Linked DNA regions of Homo sapiens: region 2 is linked to region 1. The links are contacts of gene promoters, found by promoter capture Hi-C in human tissues and cell types (Jung and others, 2019). All regions are on one chromosome and are shown on one strand. The core of a region is centred on a gene start or on the middle of the fragment in contact, and the rest is flanking DNA. Distances in the headings are between cores, read along the strand shown.

Region 1 (6,536 bases), core at 726-3,225:
GGTGAGGAAACAGCTTTCTGTAGCTGTGCAGAGGAAGAACATTCCAGGCAAAGGGAATGGCCAGTGCAAAAGCCCAGAAGCCTTATCCATCATTCCCAATGCAGAGGGCATCTTTGAAGAGACTAGGAGGGCTTTGTCAGATCACATACATTTCCCCCGCCCCTGGCTATCCCCAACTTCTCATCTCAGTCTAGCTGCCTGCAGACCAATCCAATCTATAGGTTTTTGAACAATTATTTATTGAGCTTCTACAATGGCCAGCCACTGCTTTATTCATCAATGCAGCGGTGTTCTCGTTTTCTTTGTGTTTGCAGTAGTCATATTTAATCGAGAGAGGTCATAATAAAATTTCAGTATCTAATGGGGCTTGAAATCTCAGACCTGGCCTCACTGGGCTGGGTCCATGTGACTCTAATCTGCCCTTTTGTGGGGCCACGTGCCTCCTTGCTTACCACAGACCCAGCTAGATCCAGTAGATGCCCCCCTTATGCAGACTGCCTGACTCTGTATGCTTTGGAGATTTCCACTCTGCCCTAGAGTGTCCCCCATCCCTGCCTGGGGTAACCTCTAACAAAGACAAGAACTGGATACATGCTCTTTGCTGGTCTTGAGGGACAGGGGTCTGCTCCACGTTGGGAGACCTGGAAGAGGCTGGGGAAAGCTTAGCCAGTTCCTTCTCTCCAGGAATGGATGTGATATAGGGGTGAGGGGCGTTGGGAAGCAGCGGGAGTGGGGGGTTTGAGGGCGGGGGGTCTTAGGCTTCTCAGACCCATCACAGCTCTTTGCATAGGCAGCTGCTACAGTCTGCTCCTGGGGATGCCTGGCCTGGGTGTTCCTGCAGAATCTTTAACTCTCTCACACTCACTGTCTTGAGCCCCAGACAGACACTATGTCCCTCTCTCTCTCTCTCTCTCTCTCCTCTCTCTCCTCTCTCTCTCTCTCTCTCTCTTTCTCTCCTCTCTTTCTCCTCAAGTCTGTGGTGGCCACACCCGGAACCCTCCACCTGCCTGCCCTGAGGAGAAAGGACCACCCACCCACACATTGCTTGGATCCCACCTGCCTTACAAATGCTACCCTTCACACAACCTTCAAGCACTCTCGACAAGCCCCCATGACTCCCGCGTGCGTTTTCGTATGTTTGGAGCGCCCTGTGAGTGTGGTCTTGTGCATGGTGATGAGGATGCCTGCGTGTTTTCAAGGGTCTGGGTGTGGGATGGGAGAGCATCCGCGTGCCTGAGTGAGCGTGTGAGTACACCGCATGCCTGGGTATTGTGTGTCTTTGTGTGAGCGTGGGCGAGTGCGTGTTTGAGTGTCTGCAACATCCTTATTCCTGACTGAAGGGCGGCATGCAGGAGGGGCTTCTCTTAGCCAGTCTGTATCCTCTTCAAACGCACTCCAGTTAGGGGACAGTTCACCGGCGGCCACCCCCAGAGTCGCCACACACACGCACAGGGAGGCACGCACCCCTCTTTCCAGAGCCAGCAAGCTCAGCTTCCCTTGTCGAGGAAAACCGACAACGCTTTAGCATCCTCGCTGCTCCAACAGCCCCACCCCTTCCCCCGTTCTTTGCCCTAGGTATAGAATCCTCTATCCGGAGATGGACTGGAAGCATTGGAGAGGGGCAAGAGAGGTGGCTGCGAGGAGAGTGGAGAAAGGCAAACTGAGGACACGCTGGAGGAGTGAGGAGCCGCTGCGGGAGAGGCAGATCCTACCCACACCACGCCCCTCCCTCGGGGTTGGAGATTGGGGATAGCCTGTTTTCCACTCCGGTCTTCCTTCGGGGCTCCCAGGTCTAACTGCATCTTCTCCCCTGAAAGTGGAGCCAAGCGAGGCGGCTGGGACCCCCTCCTCTTCCGCATCCCTCCCACCCCACACACACTCCGCTTCCAGGCAGCCGCTGATTGGCTGCGGGGAGCGGCGTCCCAGCCCCCCGGCTTTGAGGCGGGAGTGGAGCGGGTCCGAGGTGGGAGGCGCACAGACGGGCTCCGGGAGCCCCTCCCGAGGCCCCGCGCAGCGCGCCCCGCACCCTGCGCCCCGCGCCCTGCGGGAGGGCTGAGCCAAGACTCCAGGCGGGCAGGTGCGGAGCGAGCAGAGGGGATCACGGCCAAGGGTAGGAGCCAGTCCTGCGGGGAGAGAGGCGCTGCTGCTCCAGCTGCCGCTGCCTCCGCCGCCGCCACCACCGAGCCGGCGACCAGAGTCGGGCTGGCAGGCCGGGCGCGAAGCGGCAAGGGGAGCGAGGGGCGCGCTCATGGAGCACACGCACGCCCACCTCGCAGCCAACAGCTCGCTGTCTTGGTGGTCCCCCGGCTCGGCCTGCGGCTTGGGTTTCGTGCCCGTGGTCTACTACAGCCTCTTGCTGTGCCTCGGTTTACCAGGTGAGGGGCGTGGGGGAGAGGGAGGGAAGCCAGGAACCCCAAGTGCCGGGCAACCCTACCCAGAATCCCCCGTCCTCCCCCGTGCGTTCCCTGGCGCCCCCTCGGAAAAAGTTTAAGCTTTAAGGGCAACTATGGATATTTCCACACGGGGGGAAAGGAAGTTGCTGTGCCCTAGCTGGGGACCGTGTGTGTGTGTGTGCGCGCGCGAGCGTGTGTGTGTGTGTGTGTGTGTGTGTGATGACTGTGACGGCGGGCGATGGGCTGGGCATGTGAGCATGGATTCGAAGGTGCATTTGTGCGCGCATCTGGAGGGGGCGGCTTTCATGGGGTGGGGGCGTAGAGGGCTTTGTGTGTGTTTGGCTTGACTGCATGTTCTGGACAGAAGGCTTCGTGGAGGCTTCCCTTCTCCCGTGGCCCCTGCACGTCCACCCCACTTGGGGCACCTCTGCCCCTCTGCGTGTCCCCGCCTGACACGAGATGAAGCTGGAGACCCTGACATTGAGCACTCTCTTGCTCGGGGGGCACTGGAATGGAGAAAGAATGCCTAGCAAGAAAAGGGTCTCCCAGCTGGCTAAGGAGAATCAGGGGTTGGCTCTGGGACCATGCCCTGGCCAGGGCAAGGGTGCAGAGACACACAGGGCAGCCTGCGGTGGCTGCCACCTCAGGGGGTCACAGTCTCCTTGAGGACATGCCTGGCCCCCTGGCTTGGCCTCCAGGTCTACCCACCCTGGGCAGCTCACGGCTGCTGTGGATGTCTGGCTGGTCCCACATCTTAATGTCCTTTCCAAAGTGTGGCTGAGACTTGTCCTGAATTCCTGAAGAGAGCTGAGCTGCCGAGAAGGAGGGAGTGCTTGCCTGGGCCGTGTGCGAGAGAGAGCGAGAGAGAGAGAAAGCTTTTTTCCTGGGGCTCCAGCTTTGGGTGGACCCTCCTTGCAGGCAGTCTTGGTGACAAATAGATCCCTAAAGATTACTTGCATGCAGAGAGGAGAGAGGGACTGAAAGAAGCAGAGAGAAAGAGAGAAAAAAAATCCAGTGTACAGCCTGAAATCTTAGCATCATCTCCCTAGTCATCTCTTAGTCTGCGAACCTTAGCATCTTGCGATCCTGGGAACTTGGGAGCTGGATTTCTGAGAGCCTGGCTGAGATTTCCTTTCCCAAACATTCAACTTGGCAGTCAGGGCCCCTGATGAGATTGTTTCAATAAATCCCCCCTCCCAAATTTGGCAGGCATGAGAAAGCGCAAGTTTACTAATGTGTGAGCCTCTCTCCCCAAGCCAGTGATGAGGCTTTTATTCCTAACTAATCGCCACGGCTGCCCTAGGAGAGCAGCTCAGCCTCTGACTTGCCCTGCCGGGGTGGTAGCACATGTCCTGTAATTACCTTGAGCTGGGATTGATTTTAGTCCAGGTTCCACCTCCCCCCTTCAGCCCTTCGGAGCTTCTCTCCCCAGAGCACTGTTTTGGGAAATGAGTTTTTGAGAAGGTTGGTTATTTGATGATGCTTGCTGAACTGGAAAAGTGTAAGAACCTCTTTCCCCCTCAGCATTCCCATCAGAATGTCCCCCCAACAATCCACCCACCCTTGCACCTCCTCTACTGAGTGAGATAGCCACTCACTCACTCACTATCCCAGGCTTTTCTAATGAAACCATTTAAGGGACAGAGACAAAGACAAGCAGAGGTTGACCCTTCAAGAGTTCAAAGCAGGGACAAGAGGATGGAGAAAATGAGGAAAAACTTAGGCCTTTAAAGACCTCAAGGTGGAAGCCAAGGTACCTCGCACCTTCACATCCCAACTCCTATGCCAGCTAGGGCCTTCCTGACACACAGCATTGACATCTACTGTATGCCAGGCACTATGCTAGCCACAGGCTTAGCCCAGAGTTTGGGAACTTAAAAGGATGAAGCTAGGATTAGGATTTAGCTGTTGTTGATGTCTTCATACCCTCAACTAATAGTTTTGGCCACTATGGTATGCTAAGTATTAACTGGGTGTCAAAAGGACACAAAGTCCTAGGATGCAGTCTCTGAGTTCCAGGAGCTCCCAAATGCAAGCGCATGATTCCAAAGACAGCAGATGGATGCGTAAGGACCAAGCAACCTAAAGAAGAATGACTGGGGAGGCCAGGCTTATCCAAAAGTCTTGGTCTGCTAGCAGTTTTGTTAACAGCCCACAAGGCTGGTTCAAAGGTGAATTCTTTAAGTCATTCTCTTAAAACCATAAGGGGAGACAAGCATGTCCTGGCAATGAAGAGTGAATGTTAATCCAGATTCTGCTGGGGTGAGGTTGCAAGCTTTTCATGTCTCTGTGCCTCAGTTTCCACAGCAGTAAAATGGGAATTATGAGGGTAGCTATCCCCTGGAGTGGTGTTGAGAAGTAAGGATGTTGCTGCAGATGATGGCACTAGCGAAATGCTCGCCTTGGTGCCTGACATTCATTTATTGACACTGCACTGCTGTGGTCATAGATATCATGAAGCCGATCAAGTTGTAAGGAGGGCGGTCTGCTTGCTCAGCCCCACCAGTGACCAGAGGAGGGACTGAGATACACAGAAGAAAGCATTCAGGTCAGCATGTAACTCTGCGTGTTGAGCTCACCACAGTGGTCCCCACCCATCACCTCCCTTCCCCAGCCACCAGCAATTAGCAAACTCTCATTACTCCACCACTGACTGGGAGACGCAGCTTTGCTGGGTGTGGAGTAACAGACCACAGCTCTTGCTCATATTGTTGAAAACTGAGATTTTAATTGAATCACTATTCCTGGCAGTGGACTCACCCCAAGTTTCCCAAATTCTCGCAGTAGTTGTTGGAGACATGGGTGGGAACTGAGGGATGGATGGGGAGCGCCTGAATGTTTAGCAACAGCAGAGCTAGTATCACAGGAAAGTGGTGGATGTCTCTGACTACCTTCGGTCTCTAGGTTGGGAGGAAGAGCTAGGGGATTGCCCCAGACAGTCTAATTTTTAACTGGTTGGTGTAGGATCGAAGAAATTCTAATGTGAAATATGGGTACAGCTTTGCCACTTAAGAACTCTTCACCTCTCTTCATCATAATTTTCCCCATCTGCAAAATGGGGGCAACAGTAGTACCTCTTACCCACACAGGTGGTATATATGAAATAAGATCATCTATGTAAAAATGGCTTAGCACAGTGCCTTGTCCAAGAAAAGCACTTATTCCTCACTCAGTGCCTTCTCCACACTGGATCTCTGTCACCTATATTATTACACTTAATCCCTGCCACACCTCTGCGACCTATACCTGTCTTTGAACTCATTTTACAATGAACAAACTGAGACTCAGAAAAACGAAGCATCTTATCTACTGTCGCACAGTCAAGCCAGCATGCAAACATGCTGCCTTATTAAACAGTGCAATAAGGCAAACAGTGCAATTTTGTTGTATGGCTTCACCTTCATTAATGCCAGGCAGTTGTTTGAACTAACCTCTGTCCCTCCTTTCTGTGCTCTGTGGAGAAAATCGGTGTCCCACCTATTCCTAAAACTCCATCTCTTTCCCCCTTTCCTCCTCCTTTTTAAGTAAGAAAGACGTTTCTCACTTCTCGAGACACACAAAATAAGTCAGCAGAGCCAAAAAGCAAGGATTTGGGACACTCATTGGACCAACTGGAATGAGACAGTACAAAAGAGACAGCAATGCAGGAGAAAATGATGAACTTGAGCCCCTGGGGGAAGACAGTGAGAGGGAGGATGGGTGGGCCAGCTTGATAAGGAAGGAGCAGTGTGAAATTAAACTGAGATTTGAGAGATTTTAAAAAAAATTACCTTCTAAAGAGTGCCGGGGATGTGCAGAAAGACAAGGTGAGGAAAGAGATGATAGCTTGAAACTGCATGCCGCCCAGCAGAAGGGTGCATTTCCACCACTGCCAAGTGAGAATGATAACATCTGTAACATGTGCCTTTGAGAGTTGGTGCAAGATGAAGGCAGATGATGAGTCTGTAGCCTGGCAGATAGTAAATAAGCCTGACGCATGGTAGTTACCATTGTTGTCAACTAGAAGTAGAAAACTGGTGATCTGTCAGCTGGACTGAGGCCTGCAGATATGTTTTCTTTACCTTGTAAACATCTTTAATGAGAGAAAATGGAATAAACAGGTTAAAAGGACACACTCTGGAGCTGGACCTCTGGGGTCTGAGT
Region 2 (5,957 bases), core at 3,156-5,655, 54 kb before region 1:
TGCCGTAAAACAGTAAGCACTCTACTTTGCTCATGATTTTGTGCATGACACTCAGGCTACAAATCCAGGTTTCACATTCAGTTGCAGTTAGATGTTGGCTGGGCTGCAATCATCTGAAGACTCAACTGTGGCTGGAGGATCCAGCTTCAAGTTGGGTCACCCACATGGATGGCAGTTGATGCTGGTTGTTACCTGGGAGCTTAGTCGGGGCTGTCACCAGGAGCACCTACACGTAGTCTCTTCAGCACAGCAGTCTCAGAGTAGTTGTATTTCTTACATGACACCTGACCTCCCCCAGAGCAAGTGCCCCAAAATAATAAGGCAGATGTTTTGGCCTTTTATTGATCTAGCCTCAGAAGTCACATAGTGTCACTTCTGCCTTACTCTATTTGTCAAAGCTGTCACAAGCCCAGTCAGGTGCAATGGAAGGGGACATAGACCCCACCTCTTGATGAGAGGAGTGTTAAAGAATTGGGGTCATGATTTAAAACCTCCACAGACATGATCTCACATGCCTCTGGGGACTAGCCAGATATAAGAAGTAAGTGAAATACGTGTGGATGAGTGAGAGAACAGAGTGGTGGGGAATATGGAGAAATTGAGCCATTTTTCCCTGGCTGGAGGCATCATCCATAGCTCAGCAACCACCAGTTTTTTTTTCCTGTGGAAATGTGGGCCCAGGGTTGCCAAGTCCTTTGATTTTTCAAGTGAAGCTGTGAAAATGTCAGTGGAATTTCCCAATTTAAAAGACTCCATGTGAGCTGAAGAGAACAGGTTTGAAGATCCACAGGTTTCCAATTGTTGGCATCTAAGATAAATGATCTGAAGTAATAGTGCTTTGTGGTAACAGAGTGAGAGGCCTGCCACATGTTTCTTCAGGCTGCATGACGACAGACACAGCGGTTCATGCCTGTAGTCCCAGCACTTTGGATGGCCGAGGTGGGAGAATAGCTTGAACCCAGGAGTACAAGACCATGTGAACTTGAAGGCACTTTCAAGTAGGTACTTAAGCACCTTTCCCCAAAACAGGAAATAAAGCAAACCAGCCAAAAGATCTCTTTGGCAGAAATGAGTGGCTACCAATCTTGAGAGCTAGAAGGAAAAGTAAATGGAATGACGTGAAACATTTGTTAACCTCCACATCATGTGCCATGAATTTTTTATGTATTATTGCACCAATTCTCACTGACAACTACCTGGGATAGGATAATTACCTTCCTATCACAGGTGAGTAAACTACATTAGGTCCCCTGCTGGATCATACAGGTAGAAGGTAGTATAATATGGTTTGGCTGTGTCCCCACCCAAATTTCATCTTGAATTGTGGCTCCCATAATCCCCACATGTTGTGGGAGGGACCTGGTAGGACCTAATTAAATCATGGAGGGGTTTCCCCCCATACTGTTCTTGTGGTAGTGAATAAGTCTCACAAGATCTGTTGGTTTTATAAGGGGTTTCCCCTTTCACTTGGCTCTCATTCTCTTGTCTGCTGCCATGTAAGACATGCCTTTCACCTTCCATCATGATTTTGAGGCCTCCCCAGCCAGGTGGAACTGTGAGTCCATTAAACCTTTTTTCTTTATAAATTACCCAGTCTCGGGTATGTCTTTATCAGCAGCATGAAAACAGACTAATACGTAGTAGATCCCAGGTCAGCAGGACCCTGGAACCCCCACGCCCAACACACACAAATTCCCTCCACCAGACGAGGCCCTTGGGAGTTACTGATGCTGCATAATTAATGTTGTGGCTCGAAAGGAATCAACCATGTCTGATATCACTGTAGTGATGAGTAAATGGCAGAATGTGAGCCATGGAGCTTTAAGTGGGCCTAAGGTTGACCATCTTCTACTTTGGGCATCTCCTGGCTGGTGGTCATTATACTAGAAGAACCTCCCAACGATAGTAATAAACCAAATGTTTAGTAATCATGATATCACTTATACAATGCTCACTATGTGTCAGCTCTTGCATGTATATTTTTATTTACTTAATCCTTAAAATAGTTCATTTTACAGATGAGAAAACTGAGGTGTAGAGAGGTTAAATTATTAATACTTGCCTGAGATAACACATTAACAAATGGCAGAGTTAGGGTCATAACCCAAGGCTGTTTGGCTCAAAGTTTGTTCTCTTAAACCCTAGGCTACCTGCTTATAACTTTTTTTTCTATTTGCCACACTGGTTAATGAAATTTGATGGGCTGCGTCCATCAATACAGGGCTATCTCCCAGGACAAGAAGGCAAGCTCTGCCTCTCAAGGGGCCTGACCTTGGTGGGTGCTTCCCTATCCAGTCTCACAAACACAAGGACTCAGGATCCTAGTGTCAGTGGCATTTAGAGAGTATGACAAATGCCAGCAAAACTCACAAGAGACAAATGTATATACCACAATAAATACATAATGTTCATCTACAAGGATTATGCCAAGAGGACCAGAATGCCTCTGATGGCATGAACACCACGCTTATTCTTTGTCTGAAGCCAAATTGCAATCATTTATTCATTAAACAAATATTGATGGAACATTTGCACTGGAGTGAACAAAAGCAGACATAGCAGGATGGTGGTTTGGTAAGGAGTTTAAGAACAGCCTGTGCAACATAGTGAGAGAAGAAAAAGAAAGGAAGGGAAGGAAAGGGAAGGGAAAGGAAGGGAAGGGAAGGAAGAAGGAAAGGGAAGGGAAGGAGGAAGGAAAGGAAAGGGAAAGGAAGGGGGAAGGAAATGGAAGAGAAGGGAAGGGGGGATGGGGAGGGAAGAAGGGAGGAAGAGAGGAAGGAAAGAAGGAAGGAGGGAAGGAAAGAAGGAAGGAAGGAAGGAGAAGGAGAAAAGGAAGGAAGGAAGGAGACAAAGGAAGAAACCATGGAGTAGAATACTCTCTCTCTCTCTTTTCCATTGTCTGTCACATCAGCTTCACCCTATACATCTGCTTCATTCTTTTCTTCAATCAATCGGAATCCTTAGCTGCACAGAAACTAACTATGACTGATTTTAACAGAAAATGAATTTTTGAAAGGATATCAGAAGCCTCGGAATCTCTAGGAAGCTCAGGGAACAAGATAAAAACAAGCAGCAACAAGGAAAAGCTAGACAGCCAGAACTGCAGCCAAAATCCCACTACAGACCAAGCCTAGTGAGGATACCACTGCTGCTGCCTCTAAGAACCAAACATCCCAGCTTGCACCCGCTCCACTGCTGGCACCAGGCACAGAGTCCTGCTGAGGCACTGCTGCTGGAATACAATCTCCACTATGCCTGCATCGTGTTTATAAGCTTTTGTTATTGATATTTTCATATATACACACACACAATAGCACAGTATAATGCCAACTTAAATAATTCTCAGCTCACAGTCAATCTTGTTTCATTTGTCTCCCTACCCACTTGTCCCCACCCTCATAATATTTCGAAGCAAATACCACTTATCCTATAATTTTATCCAAAACAATTTCAACATGTATGTCTAGAATGGCGTTTCTCAATCTTGGCACTGCTGACATCTTGGACCAGATAATTCTTTGCTGTCGGGGGCTGTCTTGTGCATTGTAGGATGTTAAGCAGCATTCCTGGTCTCTACCCACCAGATGCCAGTATCACCCTCTTCACTCTCAGTTGTGACAACCAAAACTACATCTAGACGTTGACAAATATCTCCTAGGGAGAAATATTGTCCCTGATTAAGAACTTTGGGAGGCCGAGGTGGGACGATTGCTTGAGTCCAGGAGTTTGAGAGCAGCCTGGGCAACATGGTGAAACCCTTTCTCTACAAAAAATTAGCTGGGTGTGGTGGCATGCCAGCAGTCCCAGCTACCAGGAAGGCTGAGATGGGAGGATCCCCTGAGCCCAGGAGGTTGAGGCTTCAGTGAGCCATGGCCATGATCGCACCACTGCACTCCAGCCTGGGGGACAGAGTGAGACCCTGCCTCAACAAACAAAAAAGATACGTGTATTATCATAAAAACATATAGACAGCTAGATGATAGATAATCACAAAACTATCATCACACTTTAAAAATTAAAAATAATTCCTCAAAACTATGAAATGCTGAGTTGGTGTTGAAATTTACCTGATTATCTTGAGGTATTTCTCTCATATTTATTGTTAGATTCTAGATGAAAATAAGAACCATACCTTGCCATTGGTTGGTATGTCTCATGTCTCTTTTAATAGGAAGGAAGGAAGGAAGGAGAATATTCTGTGTGTGTGTGCGTGTGTGTGTGTGTGTGTGTGTTACCAGGGGCCAGAGAGAGGGGAAGGAAATGGAGAGATGTAGATCAAAGGATACAAAGTAAGAGGTATGTAGAATGAACAAGTCTGGAGATGTAATGTATAGCACGAGAGCCGTCCTTAATAACATCGGGTTGTACTTGTGATTTTTTGCTCAAAGAGTAGATACTATGTGAGATGATGGATGTGTTCATTTGTTTGACTATAGTAACATTTTCACTACCTATATGTATATGAAAACAACATGTTATACACCTTAAATACATACAAAACAATTTAAAAAAATAAAGTGGAAAAAAGAAATCAGTTCCTGTAGAGTTCACCCACAGTCTGAATTACTGATTCTATCTCCATGATTGAATTGAACATACTCCTGTTTCTCCCGTGTTTCCTAGAAGTAAGTAGTTAGATCTAGAGGTTTGATTTCATTCTGGTTCTTTGTTAACTGCTTCATGATTAGGGAGCACACTTCCATCAAGAAGCCACGATGTCTGTTTGCCTCTTTTGTTTGGATATCAGTTGGCAATCACTTTCTAAATCCTTTATTTCATTAGGTATTAAAAATGATGAAATTCTTTCAATCCTTCCTCATTTATTAGCTAGAATACTTACAAAGATAAACATGCCCTTCAATTGTTTGGCCTCCCTGACAAACTGTATAGGGAAAAGTAGAATGCATGCTTGATTCTCTCCCTTTCCTTATCAGTTTTCAAAATAATGCAATGGTATGCTAGCATCTTCCAAGAGGGACCTGTGAGTTTTGTTGTTGTTGATGGTGGTGGTGGTATCCTCATGAACTCCTGCATTTCAACACATTAGAAGTGTTTTCAGTCTCCTGCAGTTATGTCCCTACTGATACTCAACTTGTTCCATTGTTGACTGGTGGAATCCCTTTTAAGATGGTTCATGTGTTCTTCTGATGAACCCCATTGGTCTTGGGTAACTTCTTGGCTTTCTGACATAACAAACATCTGCCAGGCTCATTTCCAGGTATATATTTCCTATCCTGGACTGGAACTGTATCTATAAACTTTATACAATTAATCAGGGAAGAAGGAGGGGGAGAAATAAAAATAAACCAGGTCTGCAGCACATTCAGCATTAATCATGAAGCCACCTTGCTCTGTGACCTGCTTCCTCGTAGTTTTTTGGTGCCTATTCCTTCAGAATCACATAGACTCTGTCACAAGAGTATAGCTCCCCTTAACTTCTCTGTAGATAACAACTTAATCATTGTGAAATATTAAGTTTTCTATTTGAGATATTCTTTCAGGTTCTGCACACCAGTGAAACTGCTGACACCAGCTGGTCTGAAGGACTCCATGAGAAGCTGACTCACAAAAGAATGCAGTTCTTACATCCCAACAATTTCATCCCCTATACCCTGACAAATAACCCCAATTTTCCAGCTATTTACCTTCCATGATCTCCTAAAAAATCCCAGCCCAGATCTGCCCAAGGAGGCAGATTTGAGTGTCCCTCCTGTCTCCTCTCTCAACTGCCCTGCAATTGTTAATTTTTTTCTCTTCTGCAAACCCTGCTGTCTCAGTGTATTGGTTGTTGCACAGCAGGCCCACAAACCTGGTGGACCTATAACAAGACCAGGTACCAGACTTTTCTCTAAAGATCCCCAGTTCCTTCTAGTGTGGTCCAGCTACTTTGCAACTCTGACCAAGCCTGCACCACTTGCCCCTGCGTTAGCATCCCAAGAGCTAAAAAACAAGAATGT

The links. Contacts are between HindIII fragments. The study calls those that stand out against the background at their distance.
Region 2: a fragment that was not itself captured here is called in contact with the fragment with the promoter of GPR139 in region 1 in 2 of the 25 tissues and cell types used here (H1 embryonic stem cells and stomach).

The regions. Positions count from the first base shown.
Region 1 is chr16:20,069,329-20,075,864 of GRCh38, reverse strand. GPR139 (G protein-coupled receptor 139) reads left to right here and starts at 1,975. Exons shown (of 2, transcript NM_001002911.4): 1 at 1,975-2,375. The coding sequence starts at 2,249. The HindIII fragment of the contact is 2,569 bases long and covers 312-2,880 here.
Region 2 is chr16:20,126,366-20,132,322 of GRCh38, reverse strand. No RefSeq gene overlaps it. Among named protein-coding and RNA genes, the nearest start is that of GPR139, 55 kb to the right of the region's middle. The HindIII fragment of the contact is 5,541 bases long and covers 1,635-5,957 here.